2 separate regions of the Homo sapiens genome follow, and region 1 is linked to region 2. Evidence: promoter capture Hi-C in 16 types of primary human blood cells and fetal thymus (Javierre and others, 2016). All regions are on one chromosome and are shown on one strand. Each heading gives the region's core, a stretch centred on a gene start or on the middle of the fragment in contact. The rest is flanking DNA. Distances are from core to core; before and after follow the strand shown. Region 1 overlaps ZNF227 (zinc finger protein 227). Region 2 holds the start of ZNF229 (zinc finger protein 229).

What was found. The method cuts DNA at HindIII sites, captures the fragments that hold promoters and counts their contacts. A CHiCAGO score of 5 or more calls a contact.
Region 1: a fragment that was not itself captured here is called in contact with the fragment with the promoter of ZNF229 in region 2 in 4 of 17 cell types (erythroblasts, total B cells, fetal thymus and 1 more); the score reaches 6.9 in erythroblasts.

The regions. Positions count from the first base shown.
Region 1 is chr19:44,213,114-44,219,316 of GRCh38, reverse strand. It overlaps ZNF227 (zinc finger protein 227), which reads right to left. Exons shown (of 6, transcript NM_182490.3): 2 at 6,073-6,203; 3 at 1,465-1,526. The coding sequence starts at 1,524. Among named protein-coding and RNA genes, the nearest start is that of ZNF227, 3.7 kb to the right of the region's middle. The HindIII fragment of the contact is 758 bases long and covers 1,269-2,026 here.
Region 2 is chr19:44,446,541-44,453,002 of GRCh38, reverse strand. ZNF229 (zinc finger protein 229) reads left to right here and starts at 4,531. Exons shown (of 6, transcript NM_014518.4): 1 at 4,531-4,694; 2 at 5,403-5,490. The HindIII fragment of the contact is 11,359 bases long and covers 1-6,462 here.

The DNA.
Region 1 (6,203 bases), core at 398-2,897, 230 kb after region 2:
CATAAAAACTGTGCTTGAGCATCTACGTTCATGGAATGACTAAGAGACAAAACTAGAGAAGAGACAGTAATTGAGATGGAAACTGGATGAGGGGCATTGTTGGGGTCTATCCTCCAAAAGGTAATATCAGGGCCAGGTGCACTGGTTCACGCCTATAATCCCAGCACTTTGGGAGGCCGAAGTGGGTGGATCATCTGAGGTCAGGAGTTGAAGACCAGCCTGGCCAACGTGGTGAAACCCCGTCTCTAATAAAAATACAAAATTAGCCAGGCGTGCTGGTACATGCCTGTAATCCCAGCTACTTGGGAGGCTGAGGCAGGAGAATCGCTTGAACCTGGGAGGCAGAGGTTGCAGTGAGCTAAGAACATGCCATTGCACTCCGGCCTGGGTGACAAGAATTAAACTCTGTCTCAAAAGAATAAAAAGGTAACATCAGGTACTTCTATCATATGTGCTCATCTCTGTGAATGGAAAACTCTTTTGTTCTGTCTGCCTTTACATGAAAATAGAATGCCAGATATTCCTAATAGTTGGAAGCTTCAGTGTCCAATGAGTCAGCTACCTGGGAAATTTGGGGCAGTTATAAAATGTTCCCATAACCTGTTTCTTCATATTTAAAATGCAAATAAATCATCTCCATCCTCACATCTGAAAAATGCAATGACAGATGGAAAGGGCTAGCAAGACATCTAAGTACTACTAGACCTTACGTACATGTAGTTACTTTGATGAAATAAATTCATACAAGAAATAAATGAGTGATAAAAACATAAACGGGAAAAATATATAGCTCTTCTTCTCTGAAAGCATCTAATAAAATTACACCATGTCATTCTTTAGATGTTCTGTTTACAAAACACCTGAGGGAACTGACATGAAACTGAGACATAAACCTCTTCAATGCAGAGTTCCTAAAACTTTAAGGACAAATAATATTGAATTCCACCAGAATTTCTTTTGAAGGAATTGTTTTTATATGTAGGGAAAAAAGTCACTGGATTTACTTTAAAGTAGTAAAATTCTTAAAATTTCTGAATTTCTGAAAGGCTAAATAAGAAATAGTTTTTGTTGTCTTTTAAGGGCACTGCAATTCAATGGCATATGATGTACTCACTTACAATGCAGGTGATGCAATTAAGTGGAGAATGCACAATTGAAAATTTCATCTACTCAAGTATTGCAAAATGTGTATGAAAAAGGAACATGGGAAAATGAAAAAAGCTAGTTCATAAGCAGGGTAGTAGCATAGATTATTTCTGATTAAAGCTTCTATTATTTTTTCAAACACTGTTTTGTAAAATAGTAAAGGTGATAAACTAAAACAAAAAAACACATACATGTCAGCATACCACATGTCCTGAATATCTGTTTCCCACTAACCTTTCCAAGAAAGAGAAAAAATAAATCTGTTATCTTTGAGAAATAAATCACATTTTAAAAGACAGCAAGGAATCCTTTACGTACCTGAAACTTGGTCATTTTCTCCTGCTTCTTCTGGGGAAGGTCATAGTTCTGAGATGGCATAACTGGGGGAGACCAAAGACGCCATGAGACACAAGCCTGCTGTTAGCCCATGTGTACATATGAGGAAATTAGAGAAATAGCCCTACATTCAGACAGGTATAGCCACATACAGCTTGGTAAGCAGAACATGGACTGTATTCCAGCTACTAAATGGCATGATAGTTCAGTGCCATTGGGCAGTGAACAGTCTGCACAAGTGCAGCATCCTTGCTACAAGGATTTCTGATGGCAGAGACAGCAGGAAACGAGAGGCAATGTAACAACATATGAGGGCTCTCAAGTCAAGTATCTGGGTTTAATTCCTAGAAATGATACTTACCAGCTGTGTAACCTTGGGGATATTAAAAACCCTCTCTGTGCCTCACTTCTGTTATGTGTACAATGAGGATATGGTAAGAATCATAAATCGTACCTCCCTCATAGGGTTTTTCCAAGGATTAAATAAGTAGATGGAGAGTTCTAAGAACCAGGAGTCCCTTTCTCTTATAGTTACAAAAAAGCTTCTTCATGGCTTCTTGCTGTTTAGCCAGGCCTGGCACAGTGGCTCATGCTTGTAATCCCAGCACTTTAGGAGGCCAAGGAGGGAGGATCACATAAGGTCAGAAGTTTGAGACCAGCCTGGCCAACACGGCAAAACCTCATCTCTACCAAAAATAAAAAAAATCAGCCAGGCGTGGTGGTGCGGGTCTGTAATCCCAGCTACTTGGGAGGCTGAGGCATGAGAATTGCTAGAACCTGGAAGGTGGAGGTTATAGTGAGCCAAGATCACGCCAATGAACTCCAACCTGGATGACACAGTGAGACTCTGTCTCAAAAAAAAAAAAAAAAAAAAAACAAGCAGATGATACTTTGCATCACACACTTGCCTTGCAAATATTGCTCTCCTATGAAAGTCACCTTTAATTTCTGAAAAGCCGAAATCTGACTTAAGGTTTCTTTTTAGTAATTTGTTGCCCAGCTAGTAATATTTTACTGACACTGTTATCAGTTTTCTAAAACGTATCATTCTGGGTCAATTTACTTCATGAAGCCTGGAAACGATCATTGGTACATCTCTTTTATTTTATGTGCACAGAGAAAAACACACAGCAAAGAGAAAGATAAAGCACAAACGAAAAATCAAGAAACATGAAAGATAAATTGAGAGGCTTCCGTATTTGTCTAACAGGAATGGGAGAAGAGAAGGCAGGATGGAGGGAATGACTGAGAGGTTTTAATTTCAAGATGCAATTGCTGAGAATTTCACACAATTGGTAAAAGATACAAGTTCGCATATAGAAATTCTAAACAGTATAAATAAAAATAAACATACCCTAAACAAATCACAATAAAACTCAGAAATGCAAAAGACTAAACGAACATAAAGAACTGGAAACAACAACCTTAAAGCTCCTAGAAAGAAAATATAGTTGACCTAAAAGAAATAACAATTAGATTGACAGAAATAGGGTAACAGAATGGAGATTTAAAACAAATGAATATTACCTCCAAAATAAAGAAACTGTCAACCTGAATTCTATGTTCAACTAGATGATTATTTACATGAGAAAGAAACAATATTTTAGCTGAAAAAAAAAATGAAGAGAATTTATAACCATGTGAACCCTAAAAGATGGACTGCAAAAAGCAATGGTAAGAAAACATTTGTGACTATATTGGTAATATAATAATCTTTGTTTAAAAAAAGCCAAAGAACTATAATGACAAATTTTGAGGGTGGTTATAATAAAAAGTAGACCTATAAAAACATAGCTTTTTTTTTTTTTTTTTTAAAGGTACATCTTTTTTTTTTTTTTTTTTTTTAGAGAGAGAGTTTCGCTCTTGTCACCCAGGCTGGAGTGCAATGGCACAATCTCAGCTCACTGCAACCTCTGCCTCCCAGGTTCAAGCGATTCTCCCACCTCAGCCTCCTGAGTAGCTGGGATTACAGGTACGCACCACCACGTCTGGCTAATTTTTGTGTTTTTAGTACAGACGGGGTTTCATCATGCTGGCCAGGCTGGTCTCAAACTCCTGACTTCAGGTGATCCACCCGCCTAGGCCTCCCCAAGTGCTGGGATTACAGGCATGAGCCACCGCACCTGGCCCCATCTTCTTTCAGATTTTTTTTAGTCTCAATATTCTTCAGAATAAGAACACATGCTGATTAAGTTTAGTATTTGCTAAGAAAGAGAATATTTTTAAAGTTAGAAGAATGACACAAAACCATATAAACTCCAGACCAGTTGAGCACAAATAAAAGGGAATAAACTGAACAAAAAAAGACAAGAAAGGAGAACAAAATATACACACAGATAGTAAAAGCAAATTATCCCAGACTGCACTAAAAAAAAAAAAATTATACATATATATTCTAAAAGACACTACGAAAACATAATGACAAAAAAGTTTGAAAGAAAAAGAACAAAAAAAAGATATACTGTACTGAGCAAATGGCAAATTACAGCTTCAGTTTCAGAGGTCATGGTAGAAAATAAAAAAAAAACTGACCTCAGCTACTCGGGAGGCTGAGGCAGGAGAATCGCTTGAACCCGGGAGGCAGAGGCTGCAGTGAACCGAGATGGCGCCACTGCACTCCGGTCTGGGCGACAGGCGAGACTCCGTTTCAAAAAAAAAAAAAAAACTGACCTGATGTCTGGCGTATGCTTTAAGACAACCATCTGCAGCCTTTTTGGCACCAGGGACCAGTTTCACGGAAGATAATTTTTCCACGGATGGGGGCGGGGGAGATGGTTTGGGGATGATAGGTTCCACCTCAAATCATGAGGCATTAGTTACATTCTCATAAGGAGCGCACAACCTAGATCCTTCACATGTGCAGTCCCTCCTATGAGAATCTAATGCCCCTGCTGATCTGGCAGGAGGCAGAGCTCAGGCGGTACCCCTCCAATCACCTCCTTCTGTGCTGTCAGGTTCCTAACAGGCCACAGACTAGTACCAGGTCCGCTGCCCAGAAGTTGGGACTCCTGCTTTAAGACACTCTAATTTAAAAAAAAAAAAAAAAGTGGGGTGGAAGGAGGAGGAGATGGTCTGCAGCAAATGTTGAACCTGAGTGTTGGTTACGTGGAATTCACTGCACCACTCTTTTGACAGTTGAATATGCTTGAAATTTTTCGGCTGGGCGCAGTGGCTCACGCCGGTAATCCCAGCACTTTGGGAGGCCGAGGTGGGCGGATTACCTGAGGTCAAGAGTTCAAGATTAGCCTGGGTAACACGGTGAAACCCCGTCTCTACTAAAAATACAAAAATTAGCTGGGAGTGATGGCGCACACCTGTAACCCAGTTACTCGGGAGCTTGATGCAGGAGAATCACTTGAACCTGGGAGGTGGAGGTTGCAGTGAGCTGAGATCACGCCACTGCACTCCAGCCTGGGCAACAAGAGTGAATCTCCATCTCACAAAAAAAAAGAAAAAAAAAGAAAAAAGAAAATTTTCATAATAAGAAAAAAACTACTACACAGAATACCAAACCTATTTTGAGAAACATCCATAGCATATACTAAAGGGAAACACATTAAAGTGTTAGCAGTTTTATTATAAGTAATTTAAGTTTTCTGAATATAACATCACTGTCCAATAGAAATATACTGAGACACATAAATAATTTTAAATTTTCTAGCAGTAACATATAAAAAAGGCAAAAAAACAAAAACAAAAATAGGTGAAGTTAATTTCAACAACATAATTTAAGCCAATGTATCCAAAATATTACCATTTTGACATATAATACAAAAAATTATCAATGAGCCATCTTACATTTTTTGTACAAAGTTTTTGAAATCCAGTGTGTATTTAACACTTACAGCACATCTCAATTTGGACTAGACACATTTCAAGTGCTCCTAGGGCACACATGGCTTATAGCTACTGGATTGGATAGTGCATCTCTATAATGAGCATTCATTACTTCTATAACTAGAATATGACATATTTTGACATGGAATGAAATTAAGTAAGTGAGATGTTGCAGGATTTTTCTAAAAAATTCAAAATTCATCAGTGCAGTTTTTGAGGTCTTCCACAGTAAAATCCATACCTACATTCCCAAGGCTGATTTCCAACGACTCACCGGTAGCCATATGGATTACTATTTAAGATAACTGAAGACGACTGTATCATTGAGATTAAGACCACAGACTCAGAAAAAGGAATAGAAAATAAACAACAACAAAAACCAAAGAAACAAAAACAAACAAAAAAGATCACACAGTCTGAAAAGGAATGCTTGGGTTCAATCCCAAATCCACCTCTTACTATCAGTTGAATAACTTCGGGAAAGTATTTAATAACATAAACTCTGCCTAATTTCCTCATAACAAAATAACAAGACCTACTTCATCAATAGCTATGGTCCACAGACGAATGCCTTAAAATCAAAGTGGTAAGATGTTATTGGTAATACTCATTTCCAAGTAGTTTTCCTACCCACTCTCACATTTATTCAACAAATATTTCATCATTTTTCAGTAGTAACTTACTGAGTGACGGAAACTTGATTAACTGAAAGGACAGAAAATGGAACAACAAAGTGCGTTCAAGAGCAGGTACCTGGGGCTATGCTGGGAGAAGCCAAGAAGTCCCTCCTTCCTCCTCTTTGCAAATTCGGAGGCGGTGAATAAAAGGATGCTGTCAGCACGATGGAGTCTCTATCCCGGATAAACGGCGGTAAACATCCCCAC
Region 2 (6,462 bases), core at 3,282-5,781:
CCCTATGTGTCCCATGTCTTCACCCCCACCCCCTAGGGACAGTCCCACGTTTCCCAGTTACTCTTCAGACCTCCCCACCTTTCTCAGCTAGTTAGCCTCCCATACCAAAGAAACACCTGGAAACTCAGCGTCCTCACGGGGCTCCATCCCCATGTCTCCCAACTCTGTACTCCAGGCCCTTGGCTACTTGTGTGTGTGTCCCAGCTACTCTCCCATTATCCCAAGGTTTCTGCAACACACAGCCCCCCACACCTGGGGGTCACCGAGAATCTCACAAATGTCGGTGCCCTCCTTAATCATGTCTCCCATTTGCTCATCTGCAGCCCTCAGATGCTCTCCTGTGTCTCCCAGCTCCCCTCCAGCCATCTGCAGATTTCTCTTGGAGTCAGCCTCTCATGCTCAGGGCATCACCTAGCAACCCACAGACCTCCCTGTGCTCCTCACCTCTGTCTCCCATCTCTGCATCCCCATCCCTCAGAGACTCTCCAGCATCCCCCTGCTCCTCTCCAACAATCCCCAGATTTCTCCTGGGGCCAGCCCCTAACACACAGGACTCACCTGGAAACTCACAGACCTCACCGTGCTCCTCCTGCTCCTCTCTGACCTTTGTACCGCCATTCCTTAGGGTCTCTTTCCTGTCTCCCAGCTACTCTCCAACCATCCCCAGTTTTCTGCAAGAGTCAGCCCCCAGCACACAGGAGACCCCTGGAAATTCACAGAGCTCACCAGATTCTTCCCCAACGACCTCCATCTACACAGCAGTGGCTCCCACATACTCCCCTGGGGCCCCGCACCCATCTTCTTTTACACTCAGAGCCTCGCAGGGTCTCACAGTCACTCCCCGTTATCATCATTCAGCTCGAAGTCCTTGCCATCCTCCTAGCCAACGTGATGCAGTTACCTGGCCATTTATCCACATTCCTGCTGAGGACTCCACACTCAGCCACAGAAGAGCCCTTCCCGCATTCCGGCCTCACACAAAGACCTGTCCTTTTACTTGCTACTGTCACACATTTGCTGGCAGGAGAGGCCCCTCTGATGGCCGACATCACCACCTGGGCTATCATCACCCCTCAGCTGTGCAGTGGGACCCTCCTGCCTGCTGACGTGGCTGCTGGCGCCCGTGCCAGCGTGAACCCCAAACCTGTCCGTGTTTCTGCGGGCGACGCCACCGGGGACATCCCTAGCTTGACCCCCTTTCCTGGCAGTGACACTGTCGGTATGATCCCGCGTTCTCAGATCTCTGATGTATACGTATGACTGTTTTCCCTGCGCTCGGTTTCTTCCATTCACAGGCCTTCTCATTGTCTCTCTTTCGGCCTCCATTTCAGACATTTCCTCATTCTCTTTCCCTGTGTCTGCCCCTGTCTCCACGTGGATGCCCTGGATAAGATTCACCCGTTTAAGGTGATGGATTTCTACTTCTTTGAATAATGCTGCTATGAACACTCCTGTACAATATTTAGTTTGGACAAATGTTTTCTCTTGGTTCATACCTAGGTGTGGAATTGCTGCATCATTTGGAGACTTCTATGATGTTTAACATGTTGAGGATCTTCCAGATTATTTTCCAATATGGCTGTAGATTTTGAAATTCCTACCAGCAGTGCCGGAATGTTACAGCTTCTTTACATGATCGTCAGCATTTTTTATTTTCTGTTTTTTTTTTGTGTGTGTGTGTGATTTAGTTTCACTCTTGTTGCCCAAGCTGGAGTGCGGTGGTGCGATCTCGGCTCACTGCAACCTCTGCCTCCCGAATAGCTGGGATTACGGATGCATGCTACCACACCCAGCTAATTTTTTGTATTTTTAGTAGAAAAGGGGCTTTACCATGTTAGCTAGACTGGTCTCGAACTCCAGACCTCAGGTGATCCGCCCACCTCAGCCTCCCAAAGTTCTGGGATGCAGGCGTGAGCCACTGTGCCCAGCCTATTTTCTGCTTTTCAATCCTGACCATTCTAGTGAGTGTGAAGTAGCACCATTGTTTTGACTTCCATTTCCCTAATGACTGAGGATGTGGAGAGTCATTTCATGTGTCTCTTGCCTATTTGTTTATTTTCGTTTAAGATATGTCTACGGAAATACCTTGCCTACTTAAAATTGGGTTATTTTTTCTTAACAATAACAAAACTGTTAGGGAGTCGGAAATTACAGCAGTTTCAAATTCAGTTGACACACGGTTTCTACAGTGTTTTGCAGTTTGTATGAGGTAGGATGAAGGCTGAATATTTACCTTGGGCCTTGGAATGGATTCATCTACCCACACTTTGTGCAGGTTGGCTCTTAGCTTCCAGGTCAAGACACCTTTTTAAAATAATTATTTTTATGTTTATTTTATTATTATTATTTTTTGAGATGGAGTCTTGCGCTGTCGCCCAGGCTAGAGTGCAGTGGTTTGATCTCGGCTCACTGCAAGCTCCTTCTCCCGGGTTCATACTATTCTCCTGCCTCAGCCTCCTGACTAGCTGTGACTACAGGCACCCCCCACCATGCCCGGCTAATTTTTTTTGTTTTCTTTTTTGTATTTTTAGTAGAGATGGGGTTTCACCGTGTTAGCCAGGATGGTCTCGATCTCCTGACCTCGTGATCTGCCTGCCTCGGCCTCCCAAAGTGCTCTGATTACAGGCATGAGCCACCGTGCCCGGCCAAGACACTTGATTGAATTGCTTAAGTGCTTCCCATGTGCCAGAGCCATGAAAGGTAAATAAAGAAAATAAAGAAAAAGAAGAGTCAATTATTTTGATGACTTAGAGATCTGACCATGGAGGCCATGTGAAAGGTGGTAACCAGCAATTTAAACCATGTGTTGCTGGATCCCAGAGTAATATAATTTATTGATTTCTCGGGGAAATGAGAATGTTCTGAGAGTGGTATTTAACATCCACTACACTCGCATGAAATTCTCCCAATCACAGACTGATCTGTTCATTGAATTATGATATAGAGTTCAAAAACACTCGATAGAGGAAATTATATTCAAGTTGTGTCTTAAATATGGAGTAAGATTTTAATAGTACAGGAAAGGATGGACTTACAGAGGGAAGAACAATAGCAGCAAATTCAGACATTTGTAAAACTGGAGGACACAGGATGGGAAGTAGGACTGTGTCTACCCAAGCAAAGAGGGGTGGGTTTGGAACCAAATATCTGAAGGGCTTGGATGCTTTGGAGTCAATTGGCAATTTTTTAGAATTTATCAAAACAATTCGATAATCTGTTTATAAGAGAGAGTTCTAGAACTTCTAGGATGAAATTTTTGAAACACAACAAGGAGGGAGAGATAAGGAAATGAGTTATCACTGTAACTGAAACCTTTCATCATGGCACAGAAAAAGCAATCTCTATCTTCAGAACACACTTGTATCCCAGAAAATATTTCATTATATATATAGTAATGTAGTAAGTGATTAGGATGCCGTTTAAATCAGAAAGGAAAGAATTAATATTTATGTAAATTTTGTTAAGAAAAGTAGACAATCCTTTGGTGAAACAGGAAACTCCATCTTCCTTTCATATCATACACTTAAATGAATCACGCGGTGATTCAAAAGAAAAATGAAAGAGCCTGAAATGAATATAGATATGCACTTATTGGGAATCAGGCTAAGGAATGTCTTTTTGGTCATACTGGAGAAAAAAAAGAAGCCACAAATGAAAAGACTGATATACCTTGTCAGATGAAGTTTTTTGTTTTTTTTTTTTTCTAAACTACTTTATAAATGTTGAAACTGGGGGAGCAATTCATCACTTAGAAGCGATATCATTCATACACAGAGAGTGTATGACAATAAAAGATGACAATGAAATGCAATCGGTAATAAGCATATTTACTCTGTCAAATTGGGAAAATAAGACAGGATATTTAGTCCATCAAATTGGGAAAATATTAAAGAAAGTGATTGTGTGTAGTTTTGATATCATAAAATTAGAAGTGTAAGTTCAATGCAGGACAAAGGGGTAACTTCCCTAAAAACTAAAGAATGCTAGGCAAGTATTGCAAATAATTTGTGTTTTTTTATTATCTCTATGTATCTCTACGTCTTTTGTGACATACAGAACTATCCACGATATATGACCTGTGGCAAGAAATGATTACAAAATATTATGATGCCATTTGGGAAATGGGATTCTTAAGAATTCATATTTACTCACATAAACCAGGGATTAAGTAAGAATTTTTTTTAAACCATTCTTTACATGTAATATGAACTACTTTTGAAATAAATATTTAGTTGGCTTTTACACCAGAAAATCAATAATGCTTTATATCCCTGGTGATGGGATGATGGGCTTGTTTGAGAATATAGTCAGGTTTGCTACAACGCGAATATGTTAGTACTGAGTAAAGACATTCTTTTCAACTCAGAAACACCTTGCATGCCGCCTCCCGCCGCCTCGCAGTGGGCGTGACTCGAGGTGGACGCGCATTTACGACACCATCGCCCCTAGGATCGGACTGCGCTGCGGAGGGTTCTGGGAAAGGTAGTCCCACACCTCGAGTCGACTACTTCCGTTTCCGGTGGGCGCGTCACCTTGATTGCTTCTTAGGCAGTGGTGAGGCGTCTTAGAGACGTGCATCTCCATGCGGTTGTACTGTCAGGCCATGGGAATTAGGATCGGCTCTATAGGACCAGTGTGAAGGGACAACGTGCGGCGGAGGGTCGAAGCCCACGGATTTCCATGAGCTCGGCCTGGTGAGGCAGGGGTGTAAGGAGGCGCACGTATCGAACATTCTGAGCGCCTGTGCGGGGTGGGCCCGGGTCGGCAGCCCTCGCAGTCCAGGCTTGGAAAAGCAGTTTGAGGCCAGCTCTGGCTTTGAGATGAGATCTGCAGTGCGGGAGACTCCACTGTGTCAGTTGCGGATCGATGACATGAATTTTCTCAGGGTAGCCGCCCACCCACTTGTGGAGTAATTTCAGAGTTTTCTGCGAAGTCATTTCTGTAAACAGGAAGTTGATTCCCTGTGTTCTAATTTTATCCTTTGAAATGTATTAAGCGCTGTGCAAGTCCTAGGAGTTGGTTTGCTGTATCGTTGCTGGCTCTGCTTTTTGTAGCCGCCTAAGCACACACAGGCAGAATTTCACTTGTAAGTGTCCCACAGCATGTGACAGTCAGCTCTGGATTAAAATCTTGAGATTTTGTCTTGATTCTCCTTGTCTCCTGAAAGGGGCAGTGAAAGTAGGCTTGTAGACGGTTTCTTTGGGCATCAGGAATGGCGTGTCCCTTGTACTCTGAGTCCTGTAGGAAGAGAGGTTCTTTTCCTCGGCTCCTGAAGCAAGTAGCGAGGGTAGATTACAGGAAGGGGTAGATTACATCCAGCTGGCACTGAGAGATTTCCCCCTGTGGCGTGGTGGGAATTGGGATTAAATCATGTTATCCTGCTGTTCATTTTTCTTTCACAGGCTTCCTTCTTGGAATTGTTCGTTTCTCGGAGATAATTGTATAAAAGAAGGAGAAATAACCCCACATCTCTTGACACTAGAGCTCCAGGTGAGTGAACTTTGGTTCTCTTTTGTGGCAATGCCAGGTCTCTTGGTGACCTCATTCTTCATCCCATTGATATCACAAATGTTCATTCAGACCCCTTAGCCACACCTGCCTTCCCCTAGAAATGGGGGAGGTTTGAGGAATTTCCCAGTGTCTTTATTTAGTGTATTCTCTTCTTGGCTCCTAGTAGTGTGTCACTGGGTCAGTAAAGGCTTACACTGTTTCAGCGCCATGCTGAAGAAACGCAGGGTAGAAATAATTAGAGTAACTGTGATGGTGTATATTAACTGAGTGCTTACTATATGCCAGGTATTATTTATCCATGGTGTCTAGGACAGTGCCAGGCTTGCCAATAAATATTTGAATAAATGAATGTATTTCTATTGAATTTTCTGAGCAAGTTTGTATGTTAGCTATTATCCCCATGTCACAGATGAGTTGCTAAGGTTTAAAAAGTTAAAAAAACTTAACAGGTAAGACCTGGCCAGGAGACCTTCTAAACAGAAACCAGGTCTTTGCGCTTATGCTTCCTTCTGGACTTGTCTCATCCCAGCTTTTTTCACAGCTGATTTATTTGTCAGGCAGCTCTTAGAGACTGTCCCTGACCACCTGATTTAATGTTGCTCTTTCCACAGCTGCCACATATGTTCACCTGATAGCACCTACATTCTTGTTGGAAAACAGGAATCTATCATGTTTGCTTTATTTTCTTCATAGCCCTTTTTGCAACCAAAGGTCACCTAATTTGTAGAGAGATTAACCCACCCGAAAGTAAGCACCATGAGAACAATTACCTTTTCCATCTTAATTTACTGCTGTATGTCTAGTGTTTATTCTCCTAAGATGTTGTTAGACACTGAATGTACATTTACTAAATGCATGAGTTCCTGTATTCCTAGGTTAATGCTGGGTTGGGTCAATGGTAATAGTATATTGATGATTTTCTGTGTACCACGTACTGGGCTTTGAAGTTTA